Linked DNA regions of Homo sapiens: region 2 is linked to region 1. Evidence: promoter capture Hi-C in human tissues and cell types (Jung and others, 2019). All regions are on one chromosome and are shown on one strand. The core of a region is centred on a gene start or on the middle of the fragment in contact, and the rest is flanking DNA. Distances in the headings are between cores, read along the strand shown. Region 1 holds the start of BOC (BOC cell adhesion associated, oncogene regulated). Region 2 overlaps NEPRO-AS1 (NEPRO antisense RNA 1).

The links. The method cuts DNA at HindIII sites, captures the fragments that hold promoters and counts their contacts. A contact is called where the count stands out against the background at its distance.
Region 2: a fragment that was not itself captured here is called in contact with the fragment with the promoter of BOC in region 1 in 1 of the 25 tissues and cell types used here (mesenchymal stem cells).

The regions. Positions count from the first base shown.
Region 1 is chr3:113,209,673-113,214,999 of GRCh38, forward strand. BOC (BOC cell adhesion associated, oncogene regulated) reads left to right here and starts at 1,885. Exons shown (of 20, transcript NM_001378074.1): 1 at 1,885-2,344. It overlaps LOC124909486, which reads right to left. Exons shown (of 2, transcript XM_047449436.1): 2 at 1-2,608. The coding sequence ends at 1,883. RefSeq lists an enhancer at 2,246-2,897. The HindIII fragment of the contact is 6,739 bases long and covers 1-2,296 here.
Region 2 is chr3:113,159,362-113,165,138 of GRCh38, forward strand. It overlaps NEPRO-AS1 (NEPRO antisense RNA 1), which reads left to right. Exons shown (of 3, transcript NR_186663.1): 2 at 2,573-2,658. LINC02044 (long intergenic non-protein coding RNA 2044) reads right to left here. Exons shown (of 4, transcript NR_110823.1): 2 at 5,766-5,777. Among named protein-coding and RNA genes, the nearest start is that of LINC02044, 5.5 kb to the right of the region's middle. The HindIII fragment of the contact is 3,545 bases long and covers 533-4,077 here.

The DNA of each region.
Region 1 (5,327 bases), core at 635-3,134:
CTCCAGATCCATTTTGCCAGAGGAACATGCCTAAGAATCCAGGCACAGAGCTGAAAGTACTCGATAAATCAAAAAGGAAATTGGCTTCTGCCTGAATGACTAAATACCGGAGAAAAAATAGTGCAAAATATGGAATAAAATACATTTATGTTTCCTTTGTAAAGGTCTTTTGGTTCAGATTCAATTAGAGTCCTATACTCAGTGTAAAGTATGTATGTTTACTGACAAGAAACAAGTTAATAAAAAACAAAACAGGGCCGGGTGAGGTGGCTCACGCCTGTAATTTTAGCACTTTGGGAGGCCAAGGTGGGCAGATCACTTGAGGCTAGGTGTTCAAGACCAGCCTGGACAACATGGTGAAACTCCGTCTCTACTAAAAATACAAAAATTAGCCGCGCATGGTGGCAGGTGCTTGTAATCCCAGCTGCTTGGGAGGCTGACACTGGAGAATCTCTCGAATTCAGGAGGCAGACTTTGCAGTGAGCCGAGATTGCACCACTACACTCTAGCCTGGGCGACAGAGTGAGACTCTGTCAAAAAACAAACAAACAAACAAACACACACACACACACACACACACACACACACACACACACACACACACACAAAACCCCCAGAGGCCCAGAAAAGTTAAGTGACTTTCCAAAGTCACAGTGGCTTCCTGACTCCCAGTGCAGCTGTCCAGCCACACAGGGAAGGCAGCACCCCCATTCACCCTACTACTAGCCTGGCTGTCTTATTTCCAGGACAGCTTCCTCACCAGCTTGGCACAAACTCCCAGTTCACTTTAAACAAATGGCTTAGCCCTGCTGGGACTTGGTTTTCTCAGCTGCAATGAAGATACGGAATGGATGACCGCTCACAACCTGTGCTTCATTCCTAAAAAATAAGAAGGGAATCCAATTTGCCACCAACTCAACATTTGCCTTCTCACTGCCCTGGAAAGGTAGTTTTTAAAACGTGGCCCCTGACCTGCAGCATCAGCATCACCTGGGAACCTATTTGAAATGCAAATTCCCAGGTCCACCTACTGAATCAGAAACTCTGGAGGTGGGGCCCAGCAAAGGGATTTAGCAAGCCTTCCAGGGAGTCCTGCTGCAGATCAAGTTTGAGAACCACAGCTCTGAAAGTTTTCTGACCAACACACACGCGCGCGTGCGCGTACACATACACACGCATAGGTAACTAACTTTTCCGTGGCCACTAGCACCCCCAACCCATGCCCCCAACCCCAGCCCCAGCTCTCCCTCCCCATTCCTCCCTGGCTCCATCCTGGGATGATGAATGGAGGTCAGGGCGCTGTCAATGGACGACGCGGCAAACCCTCCCCAACCGACCGAGGGGGTCGGGGGAGGCTGCGTTAAGGCTTCCCTGAGATTGGTTTCCTTATCATTTTCTCCACCGCCGCTGTCCCATTTTCTGATGAGTTTGCTTTTAATGATTTATCCAACAGTTTGTCTTGCAGAAGAAGAAGACCATTGAGAGGTGGGTGTCAGGAAAGTCTTGGAAGAGACTAGGCGAAAGGAGGGAAGGATTGTACATGGAAGAGCAAGGGTGCGAGGTGAAGCTAAAGAGAAAGTGAAGGCTTCAGGGGAGCCCCCTGGGTTCGGGGAAAAGGGAGAAGATGGTGCTTTTGGTATGGGAAAGCAAAAGAAGTTGGAGGAGAGCGCGGGTCTGAGGCACAGCAAAAAGTGGGTGTTAACGGGAAAACTGCCCTAGAGTTTGGGGGACTTTTTCCAGCTTCCTTTCCAAGACTTTTTCTTTGCTCCATTTTGCTCCTCCCCCTCCTCCCAGCCTCCTCCACTCCCTCCTCCTCCTCCTCCTCGCACGGTAATGGGAGGCTCCTAGGCAGGAGAAGCAAAAGAAGGAATTGTTTGCGAGTTCAGTCATCCAAAAAGCTTCTTCCATATGGAGGGACCGGGTGCGCTGGGCGCGGCGTCCCCTGCGTTGTCCTCCTGCTGCCGCCCCCGCGGCCGCCGCTTTCTGCCGCGGGGACCCTGAGCCCCGGCCCGCCGGTGTCAGCCGCCGCGCGCGCGCACAGACACACACACAGAGACACACAAACACACACAGAAAAGACACACACGCGCACACACGGCGCGCACACCCTCACGCCCGCCACAGCCACAACACGCCCGCACGCGCCCTCCCTCTCCGGCCCGCAACTTCTCGGTCCTCGGCTCCTTTGTTGCTCCAGCCGCGGCCGCTCGCCCGTGTTGTGTGTCCCCGGTGTCACCGAGCGTGTTGTGTGTCCGTGCGGCGCGGCGCTGTGTGGCTCCCTCGCGCCCACCACGCTGGCCCCCGGGCCCCGGCTCGCCCTTCCCAGGCGCCGGCTGCAGCAGAGGTGAGTCACGTCGCTGAAGTTTGTTTTCTTTTCATAAAAAGTTGTGTTTACTGTTGGTTCGGGGAGAGGAGGGGGCGGGAGGCGGCCGCAGGCCGAGGCAGCGCCAGCGAGTGGCTGCCGGGGGACGTGCCGGCGGCGGGAGCCGGGTCCCAGCGCTCGGCCGGGCGCCCGGGGCTGGGAGCTGCGGCCGAGGCTGGGCGCGCCGGGCGCCGGGCGAAGAAGTTGGGGCGAGGCGGGCAGCGGGGGTCCCGGGGGCTGCAGCCGCTACGGGGCCCAGGGGCGCCGCATCTCGTTCCCTGCCGCAGCGGTCTGGCCGGGCGATGGTGGTTTCGCCTCAGCGGTTCCCAGAAGCTTCTCGGGTGGAAGAAGGATCCAGCCAGCCTCCCAAACTTCCACCGAAGGTTGACACCAGCGCCCCGGCCCCATGCTCCAGGCCGTGGGGGGAACCCGAGGCGTGGCGGCAAATGCGTAGAGTCACTCAACACGCACTCGGCCTCTTTGGAGGGTGAGGGTTTCTCATAGTTGGCGTCTTCTAAAGGAAAAACACTAAAATGAGGAACTCAGCGGACCGGGAGCGACGCAGCTTGAGGGAAGCATCCCTAGCTGTTGGCGCAGAGGGGCGAGGCTGAAGCCGAGTGGCCCGAGGTGTCTGAGGGGCTGGGGCAAAGGTGAAAGAGGTGTGTGTGTGTGTGAGAGAGAGAGTTCGTGTGTGCGTGTACGTGTGTGCGCGCGCGTGTGTGCGTGTTCGCGCCAGCAGCGTCCTCCTGGGGTTTTTGTTGATGTAACTGTGAGAAGGTGTGGGAAATGAATCTCTGGAACCAGTGGGACGGGGCTGTGGGGAGGGCAGGGAACCCAGGAAGAATTTTCATGGGGGTGTTGAAGGGCCTGCTTGACTTTCAGGATGTTCAGTATTAATTTGCTTTTCCAGGTGATGGGAGAATGCTGAGGGATGAGAGAGGCAGGCAGACCTGAAGGAGTTAATGGAGCCTCGGGGATTTGTTTGGCAGAGTTTTGTTTTGGGGATGGGGGTGGCAGTGCCAGAGTTGCTTGGAACAGAGTTGTGCTCCTCCAGAGATGTGGCAGTAGAGCTAAGAATACCGAAACCACACACCAGCAATCCCAAACTGGCACTTTTTGGGTGTGGTGGGGTGTTCTGCTGCTCCCCTCATCCCTTCTCTGCAAGTTCAAATGGGTTCGCCTAAGTTTTTGACCCAGAGTTACCTCTTTGAGTGGACTGAGTGAAGATTATATTTTGATTTCAGGCCCTTGTGCCACCTGCAGATGCACTGTGCCCAGCACACATTTGTCACCTAGTTCTTTGTTGTCCAGAACTCGGTACACATTGACCATTGGATGAATGTCATTTTAAAACTTCAGTGTGCAGACATTTCTGATTTATTCCACGACTGGGTCTTAAACAGGCAGCCCAGCTCTGTGATGGTTTTTTTCATCCCTTTGGTTACAGCCAATAAATCAATCTTCGTTTTCTTAAGGGCAGCATGGAAAATATTAAACCACAGTCTTGGGCTGCTTGTGGGGGCTAGGATGCCCATACATCTGGGTGACCTGTTTTCTGAACTTAAAGTAAATCTGAGGCAAGAGGTTAGCCATTTTGAGGTGTGTAACAGGTTTCCCAGAAACATTTCTGAGGTCTTATAATTGGTACTTTTTAATGGTCTCATAATTGAGACCCAGAAGCTTCTCGTGGTGATCTGAAAGCACCTTGGGGTCAGTGGGACAGAGGCCGGGCAGAAACAGCAGTAGAGTTATTATTTTCCTGCTATGAGTTTTTCAAATGAGTTTATGCAAAGAGGTAAAATGAAAGAAAGAAGAGTTGCCTCATTGGGCCACTTTGCTGACACTGTCCTCCCCTGTATAGATTTGTCACTCAGAATTTGGGCCTTGAGGAGGCTGGAGGGTGTCTACACATTTATGAAGCCTGAGGATTGAGACCTCAGACACTGTCTCTTTTATCCTCTATCGAGATACTTCAGAAATGCTTCACTGCAAGAGACATTCGCTAGGGAGCAGTTGTCCCCCACGCCATAGGCCACTGGCTTTACTTGGGAAAAGAGGTTGCTAGAAGCCAGAATGGTTGATTCTTTGACTACAACTGGAGAGGGAGGGTGTGGGGAAAAAATAGAGAGGACTCTGCTTAGCTGTTAATTGGTGAGCCAACTCTTGGTAAGCTGTGTGATTTATGTTCCTTTCCACCCTCCAAATGGGTCCAGAGATTTTCCCTTTTTTTGAAGTGCTTTTTCAAGTGTTTGGGATCCCGGCTCTCTTCAACAACATGGTTTCCATGCCCTAAGAATGAATAAGAGATTTTACCCATGAAATAATTCAGTTGACTTTCACATGGACCCCCCACGGTTTGAAAAAGGAGAGCAAGAAGTGAGCCTGATGTGTCATAGTGTTCCGTGTCCCCTAGGGGGTCTGGGTTCAAATTTCGGCAAAGCCACTGATGTGGGTAATGAATTAGGGTTTATCTCTGTGTCTTTCAAACTACAACAGAAAACTCAGGTGCACCAAATAATTGCTATCCAATACCTTGTGGCCTCTGAATAAGAAAATATTAACTTGGCACCAAAAGATATTATATATTTGGAAGTTGCTTTCTTTCCTCCAAACTCTAAGCCCTCTTGCTGTCTGGGAAAATATGGGACAGGAGAAAAGAATCGAAATTTGAGAGGGAGAGGAAAGAAAATAATATGTTCCATTTAGAAAAATCTATTTACTCTAACATATGTAACTTCTTGTCATCTCCATACTTCAATTCAGCAAACATTTTTAGTGCATCAGGCACCAGGCTGAAAGCTTCCTTGTCCCAGGAAAGTAAGCTTTATTAGTCAAATGATGGTTCCTCCTCAGTTTTTATTTATTGTACAAGCATCTACTTGTAATTAAGAAAATGTTTTTTAAATTATCCACAATCCTATGGACTTGTGTTGCTCATCATGTGCATGCATACTTTTGACATAGT
Region 2 (5,777 bases), core at 1,055-3,554, 50 kb before region 1:
TCTCCCTTGTTTTCTGTTACTCTCTCCCTCTGTGTCTGTCCTGCTTGCCCTGTTTATCTTCTGCCTCATCATCCGTCTCTAGTATCCTCGATGGTATCTAATGCTCCCATTTTCTCACACTCCGTCTCTTTCTCCCTTATTCAACCATGAATTGGGAATTTAAAATTTGTTAAAGCTTATTTGCTGCACGAATTCGTTGACATCTTTATTCAAGATTTTAGTTTTTGAGGTTGATGATTAGATTGATACTTCTCAAAGACAAAAATAAGTTGCCTATTTTTTTTGAAGTAATACATTGACCTGTTTAAAACTTAGAAAGTTTGAAAGAAAATAGGTAAAAATAGCTCCTTCACATCTGTCTCTCAGCCACTCTTTTGCTCAAGACAACTAACACTGCTAGTTTTTTGTGTATCCTTGCAGAGCTATTTTATATATACAAGTAAATGCATATCACTATTTCCCCACTTTGTCCTGCAAAAGATGGCATACTCTATGCACTATTTTGTACTTTGCTTTTTTTCACTTAATATATTTTTAAAATCTTTCTGTCAGTACATAAAAAGAATTCTCATTCTGTTTTAAGCTGAAAAATGTTTTCTTGTATAAATGTATCATAATTTAACTAGTCACCTATTGATGGACACTTAAGTTGTTGCCAGTCTTTTATTATTTAAAATAACACTGCAATGAATTTCATCATTCATGCATCATTTAACAGATGAGAGTGTATTTTAAGATAAATCCCTAGAAGAGAGCCAAATGCTTTGTTCATTTGTAATTATAATAAATTTTGCTATATTTTCTTTCTTAACATATACTATTTTACAGTCCCACTTACAGTATATGGGGGTGCCTATTTCCCTAAGCCTTCACCAACACAGTTTGTCAAGCTTTTTGACTTTGCCAATTTAATCGGTGAAAAATGGTTTGTCAATATATTTTTAATTAGTTTATTTTGTTGTGAATGAGACTGTTCATCTTTCACACATTTCATAGTTATTAGTATATTCTTTTCTGTTAAATCTTTATTAATATTTATTCTTTCTTCTATTGGGTTGGTAGGGCTCTTTAAATCGATATTTTTCAGTTTTTTATTTATTAGGAAAATTAATCATTTGTCTGTGATACAAGATGCCATGATTCACATTTTTTTCCCTAGTGTATCAGTGTATCATGTGTCTTTTACTCTGGATTTTTTTTTTTTTTTCTTTTTTAGAAACAAGGTCTTCTGTCATCCAGGCTGGAGTGCAGTGGCATAATCATAGCTCACTGCAGCCTCAAACTCCTGGGCTCAAGCAATTCTCCCTCCTTAGCCTCCCAGTAACTGGGACTACAGGCACATGACACCACATCTAGCTATTCTTTTTTCTTCTTTTCTTCTTTCTTTCTTATTTATTTATTTATTTTTTAGAGATAGTGTCTTCCTATGTTGGCCAGGCTAGTCTTGAACTCCTGGGCTCAAGCTATCCTCCTGCCTCAACCTCACAAACTGCTGAGATTACAGGCCACCAAGGATTTTTACCTTGCAGAGATGTTTCTTTTATATTTAGTCAAATTTATTCATCTTTTCATTCTGATTTCTAGGTTTTGTTTTATACTTAGAAAGACCTTCTGATAGGAGAGATGTTCTTTGATATCTTCTAATTATACATTATCTTGAATGTCAATCAACATTTGTTTTTCTTATATGATTGCAAGTTAGCAAATGATCAGGTATCAATGCTGATGTTGTGGGGAGAGGGAGGTGTGTGGCAGTAAGAATCTGGATTCAAATCCTTTTCCTTCCCAGTTGTGTCACCATGCAAGAGCACTTGGCCTTATTCTGCTATACACCCCAGCTATTTGTCTGCAGTAGGCAAATGAACATGCCCAAAGTGCCACAGGTCAGGTGTATGTGAAACGAGAATGCTAAAATGCTTTAATGACATGTGTGCATGAATATTTTAATTTTTTCACCTCTGCATAGCATAGCATTGTGTCTTCTGCTAGACAGCTAGGTGCTGCCTGTCTCCATCATGTCATTGTTATTGTTTGCCCTCATAGGTACTAATTATGACATGGGAGATATAGCAAAATTCATTATAGCTTTTAAAAAAATCTCCCAGTGTAGTGCAGTGAGAAAGGGGAGGGAGAGTCACTCAGTCAACATGTATACTCCTTGACTGAGCAGTGTTTGAGTGGGCACCAAGCTTAGACATGTGTGTAGGGAGGCAATTATAACTAGTTACAGCCATCCTGCCTCTTCTGTCCTCCTCTCTTCCCCAGCCTTAGCCCCCCAGCCTCATGGGGCCCAGAGTCCTCCTTCAGATGAGGCCAGTGTCCCAGGCAACTACCTGACGTGGGAAAAGCTGCCGTCCTAGAGATCAGAAAGAACCCACCAGTCAGGAACAGCAATTCTGATGATGTCAGCTTCTAAGTTTTCAGAAGCGACAGCCTCTGGTGTTCTTACAGCATCAGAAGAGCAGAAAAGCTGGCCACTTATGAACCCACACATTGTTACAGAGCATCTCGGCTTTCTGCCAAGGAGCACCACTCAGGCTTTAAAGATTTGTCCTTTGATTTTACTTTTTAGGGCATCTTGAGACAATGTTCTGCCTACACAAAATTCTAAACTGAGAGGAGTGGCTCAGAAGCTCTACTAACATGGAATCACATGTGGTAAGCCACTCTAAGGATATTATCCTCAATCATTAGATCTCTCTGGGCTTAGGTTCTAGGCAGGTGGATGGTGGAGATATGGGAATATGTGGTAGGTCACTCTAAGGATATTATCCTCAATCATTAGATCTCTCAGGGCTTAGGCTCTACGCAGGTGGATGGTGGAGATACGAGAGGTCCGGAAGAATAGACTGAGGGGTAGCCACAGAGATCAGAATAAATTTGAGTGCCAGGAGGACAGATCACGTCAAGTCATGGACTGTATCACGGACATAGAATCTTGATGTAGAGTTAGAAATGGGGGCTGAAGGATAGAGGAAGGTTTTGGAAGTTGGGAGACTCAGGAAAGCTGAGCAGGAGGCTGTGTCTGAATGGGTAACTTATATCTAGGGGAAATTGTACAGATAGATCCCTCTGATGTCCTCTGAGTTAAGATTCAGATGGTTTGAAGACAGTTTCTACCTGAAACCATGGTGGCAACTTGAGGCTTGAGCGCAAGAAGAGACCAAGGGCCATACGAGAAATGGCTTATTTGCTCCCACTTCATCTGGCCACCTTTCTTTAGCAGGACATCCCTACTCTAAGTTTTAGACTGAAAGGTAAAGTTAATCAGCCAGCAGGAAAGGAAAGAATGGCCATTCATTCGTTTAACCACTGTTCACTGAACCTTATGTGCCAGATACTGTTAAGGTGCCAGGGGTATAGCAGTGAACAAGACAAAGTCCTTGCTCTCAGAGTATCCATATTCTAGTGTGAGAGACAGATGATAAACAAGATGTATTACATTTATAATAAGATGATAAACAAGATATATATGTGTGTAACAGTGGCAATCATTGCTAATCAAGCCAGGGAAGAGGCTAGCTAGATAATTAAATGATGGAGGGAGGATGCTATTTTAGATAGGGTGGTCTAAGAATGACTTGGTGGTAATGATGTGACATTTGAGCAGAACTGGAATGAAGTGAGGGAGTGAGTTGTGCAAACATTGAGGGGAAGCGCTTCCAAGGCTAAGATAACAATAATGCCAGAGGCAGGAGTGTGCTGGGTGTGTGAGGTGCCACAGGGAGACCCCTGTGGCTGGAAATAGTGAGTGAGGGTGGCATCATAGGAGATAAGGTCACAGAGGTTGGGGCAAGCAGATGCACGATGTAGGTCACATAGGGTCTTGCAGAACGTAGTAAGGATTTAGGAATTTATTCTGAGATGAGAGGCCACTGGAAGATCACACGCTCATCAGATTATTAGAGGGCCTGGAAGCCACTCTAATGCCTTGTGTGATTTTCCAGTGCTGGACTGACCTCCTAACCTGTGAACAGACTGTGCCCCCCACGCTCCCAATTACAGGGAAAACAGTTGTGCCCTTTCAACCACCAACTGTGCAGTTCTGGGCAAAAGACATAAACAAACGCTGCAAATCTCAGGCCACTTGAGCAAAGCCTTCCTCATCTCTATGCTGGTGGCTACAACTGTGACCTTGTAGGTAGGGGCTGTGTTCGCCCCTACTTGAGTTGTACCATATGAACCAGTAAGTGGCTGCTGATAGAACATTCAGGAAACTGCTTCTATTTCCTCATCTCTGAATTCTTCCTCTCAACATCTCATAGACCAGGCCTCTGCTTAACAGAACCTAAAAGGAGACCTGCTATGACCATTTTCTTCCACCTGGGACAAACTAACGGCAGATCTTCCCAAGTTTCTTCCTCACATAGGAAGTGAGACATCCCCCCCAACTCTCCATACGGTTAAAGAACAAGATTTGTCTAAAGCATTCATAGGTTCAGTCTGGAAAACTTCTCATAAGATTCAAATGCACTAGCAGACATGCCCACAGGAGGAACCCAGACCCCAGAAGCTGATTTATTTCACAGAAATCACCTTGAAGCCTTAAAAAATACAGGCAGTTCTGTTGTTTGTATGTTTTGTTTTTATCATAAATTTCTTAAACACACACACACCAAAGTCATAGTGTTGTTAAAGACTATTTAATAACCAGAAAGTTGTTCAAATGAAATAGCCTAGGCGAGGCTGTGCAGAAACAAGAATGCTTTTACATTGTTGGTGGAAGTGTAAATTACTTCAACCACTGTGGAAGACAGTTTGGTGATTCCTCGAGGTTCTAGAACCAGAAATACCATTTGACCCAGCAATCCCATTACTGGGTATATACCCAAAGGATTATAAATCATTCTACTATAAAGACACAAGCACACGTATGTTTACTGCAGCACTATTTACAATAGCAAAGACTTGGAGCCAACCCAAATGCCCATCAATGATAGACTGGATAAAGAAAATGTGCCATATATACACCATGGAATACTATGCAGCCATAAAAAAGAATGAGATCATGTCCTTTGCAGGGATATGGATGAAGCAGAAGCCATCATTCTCAGCAAACTAACACAGGGACAGAAAACCAAACACCACATGTTCTCACTCATAAGTGGGAGTTGAACAATGAGAACACATGGACACAAGGAGGGGAACATCACACAACTGGGCCTGTAGAGGGGTGGGGGGCAAGGGGAGGAAGAGCATTAGGACAAATACCTAATGCATGCGGAGCTTAAAACCTAGATGATGGGTTGTTAGGTGCAGCAAACCACCAAGGCACATGTATACCTATGTAACAAACATGCACGTTCTGCACATGTATCCCAGAACTTAAAGTAAAAAAAAAAAAAAACAGCATGTTCATATGATCATGTGTGTGTGCGTGCTTGTGCGTGTGTTCTAAGCATAGGCAAATATGCATAGACTCATGAAAGTGATAAGAATATGAGTGATTTTAATTTCATCTTTTTAATATATATTTTCAAATTTAAAACATTTTTAAAAATTCTTACATTCCAAACAACTGGATATAATGTCAGAAACTTACAGTCTCAACCTCAGTCTTCCCATCAGCCACTCTACAGGGAAGGGCCAGTATGTGATTCCAACAAATCCCCTTTGAATTAGAGCACATGTATGTAGTAAACATTCATACATTGATCTCCTGAACCACTGACCGACGCCCCGCTTTTTTCAGGCACCTGCACATGGCTTAGAATCATTTACACACAGAAACACAGGATTGGAAAAGATTTCAGAAATGATCTTACCCAACTGCCAGC